Linked DNA regions of Homo sapiens: region 1 is linked to region 2. The links are contacts of gene promoters, found by promoter capture Hi-C in human tissues and cell types (Jung and others, 2019). All regions are on one chromosome and are shown on one strand. The core of a region is centred on a gene start or on the middle of the fragment in contact, and the rest is flanking DNA. Distances in the headings are between cores, read along the strand shown.

The links. The method cuts DNA at HindIII sites, captures the fragments that hold promoters and counts their contacts. A contact is called where the count stands out against the background at its distance.
Region 1: a contact is called between a fragment that was not itself captured here and the fragment with the promoter of ZNF195 in region 2, in 1 of the 25 tissues and cell types used here (H1 embryonic stem cells).

Annotation. Positions count from the first base shown.
Region 1 is chr11:3,434,327-3,439,980 of GRCh38, reverse strand. It overlaps the pseudogene ENPP7P15. Among named protein-coding and RNA genes, the nearest start is that of ZNF195, 58 kb to the right of the region's middle. RefSeq lists a silencer at 2,246-2,414 and an enhancer at 4,218-4,836. The HindIII fragment of the contact is 6,241 bases long and covers 1-4,626 here.
Region 2 is chr11:3,376,627-3,382,189 of GRCh38, reverse strand. ZNF195 (zinc finger protein 195) reads left to right here and starts at 3,044. Exons shown (of 6, transcript NM_001130520.3): 1 at 3,044-3,152. The coding sequence starts at 3,150. It also overlaps the pseudogene TSSC2. RefSeq lists enhancers at 2,797-3,091, 2,780-3,343 and a silencer at 3,269-3,338. The HindIII fragment of the contact is 6,782 bases long and covers 92-5,563 here.

The sequences.
Region 1 (5,654 bases), core at 257-2,756, 59 kb before region 2:
ATCTTCCTGCCTCAGCCTCCCGAGTAGCTGGGACTACAGGCATTCACCACCAACCCAGCTAATTGTTTAAAAACATTTTTCTAGATATAGGGTCTGATCCCAAACTCCTGACTTCAAGCGATCCTCCTGCCTCAGCCTCCCAAAGTGCTGGGATTACAGTCGTAAGCCCCCGCGCCCAGCCCAGAGCACACTTTTTTTTTTTTTGAGACGGAGTCACACTCTGTCACCCAGGCTGGAGTGCAATGGCAAGATCTCGGCCCATAGCACACTTTTAACCACCATATCATTCTGCCTCTGGGTAGGTCAGTCAAGCTCTGTAGCTGAGCAGATGTCTGTAGAGAGAAGGAGACATCAGTCTCCCCTTCTTCCAAACAGCCCCGAATTTTACAAGTGATTTTCTCAGATCCCTCAGCATCAGGAATGGGGATGAGCAGGGCAGCCTGTCCCCTCCGAACAGCCCAGCAGATATCCCAAGATTACATCTCATTGGCTCTGACTAGGACATGAGCCCAAAGCTGAACCGGTTGCTGTAGCCATGGCATGCAGCATCCTCGGTCCTCTGGCCAGGCCAGAGCCACATCCCACCTCCGGATCCTCGAGTTGAGTCAATACATCTTGAACCAGGCATGGACTGAAGCTCAAGGGGGAGTCAGAGTAATGTGACCCAGCCCAGCATGTAGTGGGTGCTGAGCAGGCAAGCATTCATTACCTACTGCACACACCAGGGAAGGCTTGTGGTGGCTTAGTCCCACGTGGGGGCAAAGAAAAGAGTGCCTGCTCCGTGCCAAAATGTGATGCCCAACACTGTATCTTAAAGCTAGCTGGCTTTTTAATCCCAGCTACTTGGGAGGCTGAGGCAGGAGAATCACTTAAATTCAGGAGGCAGAGGTTGCAGTGAGCCAAGATCACGCCACTGCACTTCAGCCTGGGTGACAAGAGAGAAATTCTGTCTCAAAAAAAAAAAAAAAAAAAAAAAAGCTAGTCGGCTTAATCCTTGCAAAGATGCCATCTACTTTTTGGCATTCTACAGGTAGAAACACTGAGACACTGGAAAATTTTAAAACTCACCACCAGCCGGGCGCGGTATCTCACGTCTGTAATCCCAGCACTTTGAGAGGCTGAGGCAGGAGAATTACTTGAGCCCAGGAGTTCAGGACAAGCCTGGGCAAATTAGCGAGATCTCATCTCTACAAACACTAAAAAAAAAAAAAAAAAAAAAAATTAGGACTAGGCACAGTGGCTCACACATGTAATCCCAGCACTTTGGGAGGCCAAGGCAGGTGGATCACTTCAGCCCAGGCGTTCGAAACCAGCCTGGCCAACACGACAAAACTCTATCTCAACTAAAAACACAAAACTTAGCTGGGCATAGTGGCACGTGTCTATAATCCCAGCTACTTGGGAGGCTGAGGCACGAGAATTGCTTGAACCCAGGAGTCAGAAGTTGCAGTGAGCTGAGATCGTGCCACTGCACTCCAGCCTAGGTGAGAGAGTGACACTGTGTCTCAAAAAAAAAAAAAAATAGGTATGGCGGTACATGCCTGTGGCCCCAGCTACTCAAGAGGCTGAGGTGGGAGGATCGCTTAAGCCCAGGAGTTCAAGGGTGCAATGAGGTATGATTGTACCACTGCACCACTATATATACACATATATATATGTATATGTATATAGTTATGTCTATATATACACATATATATATACATGTATACGTATGTGTATATATATGTGTGTATATATATAAAAAACACACATGCACAGATTCACCACCAACAACTCAGAAATTACCATCTCCCTCTTTTCTAAGGAATTATTTTTCATTTTGCCATCTCTGAAGTTAGAATACACCTTACAATCACTGGAATGTCACGGTCTTGTTGGCAGCATTTTTCTGCTTAGTAACCCATAAAATAATAGCACATCTTGTAACTAAAAGTGTTGTAGATGCTATGAGATCCTGGGGAAGCCCAGAATCTAACTCCACCCTGTCTGACTCCAAACACCACATATTTTCTATGTCTTTGGACTGGGGCACAGATGTAGATAACTCGAGCTTTGCTGATTGTGAGAAAGGTATGAGAAATGGCCCTGATGGAATTTTCTTCTTGTACTTTAAGGGGAAGAAAGCAGCATCATCCCACTATTCCAGGGGAGGTGCTAAATACGAGGGTGAGGCTGTCAAGCGGTCCCTGGTGGAGTCCTACACTCACCCAAACAGCAACGAGACAGAGCGGAGGGAGAACATCGATACCGTCATGAACTGCTTCAGCACAGAAGACTTTGACTTTGTGACTCTGTACTACAGAGAGCCAGATAACGTGGGACATCGATTCGGGCCAGAGGCAGAGAAGAGGAAGTTGATGATTCAGCAAATCGGCAGGACCATCGTGTATCTGGTGGGAGCCACTGAGAAGCACAGCCTGCAGAGCACCTCAGCGTCATCATCACATCAGACCATGGGGTGACCACCGTGAAGAAGAGACCCAACGTCAACAAGATCCCTTGACCAACTACATCAAGTTCAGGGTCTGGGTCAAGTTTGATATTGCGGGCTACGGTGGCTTTGGGCTGCCCCTACCCAAATTGGGGCAAGAGGAAGCCCTTTACCAGGCACTGAAGAATGCGCACCCTCACCTCCAGGTCTACAAGAAGGAGGAGTTTCCAGAACACTTCCATCTCGCTAAACATGACCGGGTTCTGCCAATCGTGATGTATGCCAACTCTAGTTACAGTATTAATGGGATAAGTTCATTCTAAAATGAATAAAGTCACCTTGGATCTAGGAGACAACCATTAGGGAAGGGTGGTTCTCAAAAATCAAACATAAGTGCACAGCCAGGCACGGTGGCTCACGCCTATAATCCCAGCACTTTGGGAGGCTGAGGCAGGTGTATCACCTGAGGTCAGGAGTTTGAGACCAGCCTGGCCAATATGGTGAAACCCCATCTCTACTAAAAATACAAAACTTAGCCGGGAGTGATGGCGTGCATCTGTAGTTCCAGCTACTCTGGAGGCTGAGGCAGGAGAATCGCTTGAACCTGGGAGGCAGAGGCTGCAGTGAGCCAAGATCATGCTACTGCACTCCAGTCTGGGCAACAGAGTGAGACCCTGTCTCAAAAAAAATATAATATAACATAATATAATAAAACAAAATAAAATAAAATAAGTGCACATACTACGAGTTGTAGCCCACAGGGTCCCAAATGTTCCCCACCCCCCGCCCAACCAATGCTGCCCCAAATTACCATTATACAAGATTAATGACCAATTCAACTGGACAAGGCTGATTTAAAAATAAAAATAAGGCTGGCCATGGTGGTTCACACCTGTAATCTCAGTGCTTTGGGAGGCCAAGACAGGAGGATTGCTTAAGGCCAGGAGTTCAAGACCAGCCCGGGCAACATAGGGAGACCCCATATCTACAAAAAACAAACAAATAAATAAATAGCCAGACATGTCAATGCATGCCTGTAGTCCCAGCTACTCAGGAGGCTGAGGTGGCAGGATTTCTTGAGCCCAGGAGGTCAAGGCTGCAGTAAGCTGTGATTGCACCACTGCACTCCAGCTTGAGCAACAGAGCAAGACCCCGTCTCTAAAAAATAAATAAAAAATAAAAAATAAACAGCAACTTCATTATTCAAAATTGTGCGTAGCGCTTCGCTAAACATTGAATAGCAGTTCTTTCATTTTTGTCTTCCCAACAACCCTATAAAATAGATGCTCTTAGTTCCACCATTTTAAAGAAGAAATCAAAACCTAGAGAGAAGTGACTTGAGATTAAAAATGTAAGCTTGGGCTGGGTGCAGCGGCTCACACCTGTAAGCCCAGCACTTTAGAAGGCTAAGGTAGGTAGACTGCTTGAGCTCAGGAGTTTGAGACCAGCCTGGGCAACACAGTGAAACACCATCTCTACAAAAAATGCAAAAAACTGTAGCTGGGCATAGTGGCACGTGCCTGTGGTCCCAGCAACTCAGGAGGCTGAGGTGGGAGAACTGCTTGAGCCCGGGGGTGTTGAGACTGCAGTGAGCCATGATCACGCCACTGTGAGATAGGAGGCAGGACTTGACTCCACAGGCAGGGCTTGGACACCAGACCAAATTGAGGACTAGCTAAAACAGGGCTGGGGCAGAAGCAGCTTTCCACCAGACATGCCCACCAATGTGCCATGTGAGTTTACTATTGCCATGGCAACACCCGGGAGTTACTGCCACTTTCCATGACAATGATCCAATGACTCAAAAGTTACTACCAATTTTCTAGAAATTCCTGCATAAACTGCCCTTTAATCTACATGCGATTAAAAGTGGGTATAAATGTGATTGCAAACTCTCTGCCTCTACTCTCTGCCTCCAGGCTAGCCCTGCCCTACAGGAGCAGTCACAGGGCTGTAACACTGCCTCTTCAATAAAGCTGTTTTCTTCTAAACCTCCAGCTTGCCCTTGAATTCTTTCCTGGGCAAAGGCAAGAACCCTCATGTGCTATTGAGAGGTGTCAGCGTTCTGGCAGCCCTGGAGCTCACTCTCGGTGCCTCCTCTGCCTGGGCTCCCAATTTGGCAGCACTTGAGGAGCCCTTCAGCCCACTGTTGTACTGTGGGAGCCCCTTCCTGAGCTGGCCGAGGCTGGAGGCGTCTCCCTCAGCTTGCGGGGAGGTGTAGAGGGAGAGGCGCGGGCGGGAACCAGGGCTGGGCGCGGCGCTTGCGGGCCAGCGCGAGTGCCGGGTGGGCACGGGCTCGGCAGGCCCACACTCGGATCGGCCAGCCAGCCCCGCCGTCCCTGGGCAGTGAGGGGCTTAGCACCTGGGCCAGTGGTTGCTGTGCTCGATTTCTCACCGGGCCTTAGCTGCCTCTCCGCAGGGCAGGGCTCGGGACCTGCAGCCTGCCATGCCTGAGCCTCCCCACTACCCGCCGTGGGATCCTGCGTGGCCCGAGCCTCCCCAGTGAGCACTGCCCCCTGCTCCACAGCGCCCAGTCCCATCAACCACCCAAGGGCTGAGGAGTGCTGGTGCTGGGCGTGGGACTGGCAGGTAGCTCCACTTGCGGCCCTGGTGTGGGATCCACTGGGTGAAGCCAGCTGGGCTCCTGAGTCTGGTGGGGACTTGGAGAACCTTTATGTCTAGCTGAGGGATTGTAAATACACCAATCGGCCCTCTGTATCTAGCTCAAGGTTTGTAAACACACCAATCAGCACCCTGTGTCTAGCTCAGGGTTTGTGAATGCACCAATGGACACCCTCTATCTAGCTAATCTAGTAGGGACTTGGAGAACTTTTGGGTCTATCTCAGGGATTATAAATGCACCAATCAGCACCCTGTCAAAACGGACTAATCAGCTCTCTGTAAAACAGACCAATCGGCTCTCTGTAAAATGGACCAATCAGCAGGATGTGGGTGGGGCCAGATAAGAGAATAAAAGCAAGCTGCCCGAGCCAGCAGTGGCAATGCGCTGGGGTCCCTTTCCACACTGTGGAAGCTTTGTTCTTTTGCTCTTTGCAATAAATCTTGCTGCTGCTGACTCTTTGGGTCCACACTGCCTTTATGAGCTATAACACTCACCTTGAAGGTCTGCAGTTTCACTGCTGAAGCCAGTGAGACTATGAACCCACTGGGAGGAACAAACAACTCCAGACATGCAGCTTTAAGAGCTGTAACACTCACCTCG
Region 2 (5,563 bases), core at 1,795-4,294:
TATAACAAATCTGCACCTGTGTCCCTGAACGTAAAAGTAAAAAAAAAAAAAAAAAAAGCAGTGGTTTGGGGTCTGGCCCACACTCTAATCCCCCGGAGACCTTTAAGCCACAATGTTGCCCAGGCCCCACTCCAGTGATTCTCATTTTACTGGTCGGTGGCAGCTTGGGTTTGGGAAATTCTAAATGCCATCCCCCCAGGTGATTTTACATGTAGCAGGGGTGAGAACAATTGATTCAGGGTAAAGAATGCATTCACTGTAGCTGGTTTCCATGCATACTGATGGGATTTGCCACATAGGAGCTTGAAAAATAGCTCTTCCTTATTAAAAATCAACGGACACCTCCAAGATGTACTTAGCTGTTCGGATAAATTGCTGCAGAAAAAAAGTCTTCTCAGCAGATGTATCTTTAAGTCACTTGATTTCAGAGTAAGAGGTTGTTTCAGTCACAGTACTTATAGTCAGTGTTGAAAATTATGAACAGCCTACAAATACCAAAAAGGAATGAAAGCATTTACAGACATATAGGATACATTCTGTTTTAAAATTGCTCCTCTGTTGTTGGGCTCTGATTTCCTAAAGTCATCTATCAGCCATTTCCCTCAAATTATTCCATGTCCTTCCAAGAAGCTTCTGCAATTTCTCGAGGTGATTGATTATTCCCAATGGTAAACAGCACCATATGGGTCCAAATCTAAAAGGAATTCTGCCTCTATTGCAGAAGAGTTACTCTCCAGAAACTTGCAGGCCTTGGAAAGCTGTATGAGCAGTGCAGTCTATGCAGGAGTAAGGGCTGCAGAGCCAGGCAGAGCTGATCCTGAGTACCAGCCCAGCTGCTTAGCAGCTGTGGGACTTTGGGCAAGGTTCTTGACTTGGAGCAGTAATATAAACCTCTTCTGCAAGAAAGGGTAGAATAATACTGATTGCAGAAACAGCAGCAATGCTTCATTACTCTCTGTATCTATGCTCTTTATTGTGTGCTCTTACAGCTCCTCCCATCAAGAGGCCGAATGTGTTTCCCAAACTTTGCATCTGGCTGGCACTATTTTCTCTGGCTATAGAAAACTGTTGTATTAGTTTGTTTTCACACTGCTGATAAAGACATTCCTGAACATGCGAACAAAAAGAGGTTTAATTGGACTTACAGTTCCACATGGCTGGGGAGGCCTCAGAATCATGACGGGAGGCAAAAGGCACTTCTTTCGTGGTGGCGGCAAGAGAAAAATGAGGAGAAAGCAAAAGTGGAAACCCCTGATAAACCCATCAGATCTCGTGAGACTTATTCACTAACATGAGAATAGCATGAGAAAGACCCGCCCACATGACTCAATTACCCCCTTCCCCGGTCCCTCCCACAACACACGGGAATTCTGGGAGATACAATTCAAGTTGAGATTTGGCTGGGGACACAGCCAGACCGTATCAACTGCGAATATGACAGCTTTTGTGCTAGTTTTGGGCCTAGGCTCAAAAGGTCTTAAATGCTTCTGTGTTTCTCAGAACCTTGCTATCTTTATGAGATCAAGCTATCAGAACCTTGCTATCTTTATGAGATTAGCCAGCTGGAGGATGACATACCATGGTGGGGAGAAGGAAGGTGCCACTGTTGATAGCCATCTCATCCCCAGAAGCAGAGCCACCTAGTCAACCAGCAGCTGGCCATACATACATGAAGCAGTCCAGTTGTGACAAGAATAGCTCAGTTGAGTTCAGCGTGAATGGCTGATGAACTCAATCATGAGCTATTAAGTTTTCGGTGATTTGTTATGCAATAGCTAACTAATACATGCACCCAGGGCAGATAGGGTGCCAGGATTCAATGAAAGGTTGATTCCTAGTTACCTGCAAGAAGAAAGCACTTTATAGGTACTAATTCTCCCCCCTTATTTAAAGTTGGATCTTTTGTAAGATAATGTTCCGTCATACAGAAATGCATGTACACATGTATATATGTGATTGGTGCTTTTACTCACACAGCCCCCCAACCACGGGAAGAAACAGACAATCACAGCTTGATCATTAGGGCTAAGGCCAAATAGCAAGATAAGTCTGCCTCTAGTCTATTTCCTCCATATCTAAATGTTGGAGGTCAAGGCTATGGACAGATCTGAAGATGTGTTCTCTCCTCTTAGGGCCCCATTATTGATGGGCAGCAGTCCTCTACCCGTGGATATTTTCTTTTGCTTTCCCCTATGCTCTCTAGGATCACCATCTCGTCCACCCTTCGACCGGAGGAGAGATGTTTGTAGCAAGAGGCTGTTCCCTCACCTCTGGCTGAAAAGGGACTTTCAGACCCTCCACTTCCTGACATAAGGGAGGTTAGACCTCAGAGCTGCACTTTAGTGTGGCAGCTATTGATCATGTGTGGCTATTGAATAACAGGAATACAGCTGGTCTGAACTGAAATGTGCTGAAAAGGTAAAATACAGAGTGAGCTTCAAAGATTTAGTACCCCAAAATATATACTTCCTTACCAATTGTATATTGACCATAGAGGAAAATGGTTACATACTGGGTTAAATTATTACAATCAACTTCACCTGTTTCTTAGTACATTTTAAAACGTGGCTACTAGAAAATTTAAGATTCACACATGGCTTACATTTTAATTCTTAGAGGCTTGAATCCTTTTTGAAATTTCAGGCTGTCTGTTCAAAGGACCAAAAGCCAGGAAGGCCATAAAATATAAAAATTCAAAATGATTGTCTTTATTTTCTTCTTTCCATTGGTGAATAACATATATTTATTATTTATAAATAAACATAACCGCAGTCACAAGATGAAATGTAAATATCCTCTAGGTGGGGCCGGACAGCGCAGGCAGGAAGCCCCGCTCCAAAAGATCGCGGCCAGCACCTGTCCTTGCTGTCTCATTCGGCCCATTGTCTGATTACAGCTCCTGTCACTCAGGGCCTGAGGGGGCGGGGCGTGATGCCCTATCCAATCAGAGGAGTAGGGGCGGGGACTGTCCAATCAGGCACATGTCTGGAGAGGAGAGGACGGCTTCCGGGATCTAGCGGGGCCTTTGTCCCGACAGAGCTCCACTTCCTGTCCCCGCGGCTCTGTGTCCCCTGCTAGCCGTAGGTCGTGTGACCCGCAGGCACCGGGAGATCCAGAAGTGAAACGCCAGGCTCTCTGGAGGCCAGGAGATGGTGAGTGTAGGGGCCAGGCCTCCTGAGAGACAGGGAGGGGCGGACTGGAACCCGCGGTACCGGCTCGGGAGGAACCGGGCTGCCCGGGTGGGTTCCGGGCTCCGCGGACCCGAGGCCCCTCCAGCTGCACCATGGCGGCCGGGCCCCGCGCGCCCCGGCGCATCCCTGCAGAGCGGCTTTGGCCCAAGCCCAGAGCCATGTCCCCCCGGCAGCTCTTCGCCCGCAGACCCTCGTCTCCCCGAGTCAGGAAGGGAGAATCCCGACTCCGTGGGTGGTTTGTGCATAAGAGGATGATCTGTAGCCCGTGGGGGCCCCAGTCCCTCCTTTCTCTCGAGGGAGTCCTTGCAAAAATGTGAAAGAGTTTTATTTGAGCAAAGAGCGATTCATGAATGGCAGAGGACCCAACCATGTTTTTTGGGTTTGGAGGTCCCACCAGCCGGCCTTGAAGGAAAGGCTTTTATCAGGTGCATGAGGAAGCAAACCACATTCATTCATTAGTTCGGTACAGTTACGTCATCTCCTGATTTCAGCTATCTAGGCTGAAATTTTCTGGTCCTGTAATCAGAAGTTAATTAGAGGTTTGTGGTTGACGAAGCCTGAATTTTGTTTCTGCAAGATAGTCATTTGCAAGAAACGCATCTGAGTTAGATTTTTTTTTTTAACCTAAGAACCCAGGGCACTAGAGCCACCTCAGTCGGATTGCCTGCTATTTAATTATTATTATTTTTGAGATGGAGTCTCGCTCTGTCCCCCAGGCTGGAGTGCAGTGGCGCGATCTCGGCTCACTGCAACCTCTGCCTCCCGGGTTCAATCAATTCTCCTGCCTCAGCCTCCCGAGTAGCTGAGATTACAGTCCTGCACCACCACGCCCGGCTAATTTTTGTATTTTTAGTAGAGACGGGGTTTCACCATGTTGGCCAGGCTGGTCTTGAACTCCTGACCTCATGTGATCCGCCTGCCTTGGCCTCCCAAAGTGCTGGGATTACAGTCGTGAGCCACTGCGCCCAGCCTGGACGGCACTTTTTAAGAGATTTGTTTTCTGTTTGTAATCATTCCACGTGACAGGAAAGCAGAGAATCATCCCCTGACGCTATTGTAAAAAGTCTTTGTGCCTCTCCTCCTTTTTATTTTCCCTAGGCACAGACACCTTACCAGAATGTCTTTGGTTTGAGGTTCCACTTTGGAAACTTGACAGGGTGATTTGCTCTCAGCCACCCTCTGGACTTTTTCCTCAGTTTCAGTATTGTCCAGGGATAACACAGGATGCCCACCATGGCCATGTCTGCTGGAGCATCTAGTGAATTTCAGGCCCTGGGTTATTTCTCAGAGGACAGCCTGAGGTATGAAGTGTGGCCTCTCCAGGGAGCAGCTGGATGCCCTGGGCTGAGAGAAATCTCCTGGTCTACTCTTCCTCTAAAGAGGTAACCACTTAGGACATTAAGATTGTCTTCACCCAACCCAACTTTCAATCCCTGGAGACACATGGCTGATCAGCCAATCACATGCCCCTGTCAGAGGGAAAAGACCGAAATCATTTCTGCCCTTTGGACTCTCAGATTTGTGAAGGGAGACAGAATGTTTCAAAGAGCAAGAAAAACTCCACCCCGTGAGATGGTGCAAAACCTGTAAAGCAAAATTCACCTGGGACACTCAGCGGGGCACAGTGCAGTGTATCATCGGGGGTGGCCGGTGAGCACTTCGGTGAACAGGATGGAGGTGGGAGAATCTCCCAAGGAATAGAATAGCCTGACTTGACACAAGTCATTAGCTGTGTCTGTGTTCCAGTCGGCACTGCCACTCTCTGTGTCTCCTTGAAATAATTTATTCACTTACTGCAATGTTGGATTTTTAATTGTAAATTTACATTTTATCAGTAGAGCTTGAAAGGTAAGAAAATACTTACAAAGGACATGAAATAGGTCAATTTCAGGAAAAAAGTTAAATATCTAGTCATACATACCTTTTTCTTCTCCAGAGTGATTAAGGGTAGAAAGTTACTTAGGTCTGTTCTTTTGTGGAAGATGATTTCCAACAGAATCCCAGGGCTTAGCTTTGGGAATGCTACCAGGGAACATAAAATGCTTCTTGGATGGCTGTGGAGAATGTTTACATTTTCTACAAAAAAATTATGGTAGATTACTTGGTAAATTGCATAGATTCATCAGAACATGAGCTCTTTTTGCAGGATGAATTTGTTGTCATGAGTATCTCTGTTTTATATCCTGTTCTCTAGATGTCTGAGCTTAATGCTAAGTTGTAGGAGATGGAACTTAGCACTTCTAAAAGTGTTCACATGTGATTGTTTACTATATGATTTGTTATGGAAATAGTTAAATGACAAGTTCATTGTCTGAAAGCAATAAATAATTTTGCTTTTTCTGTGGAGGTGAAAGTGTAAGTGCTTACAGTTT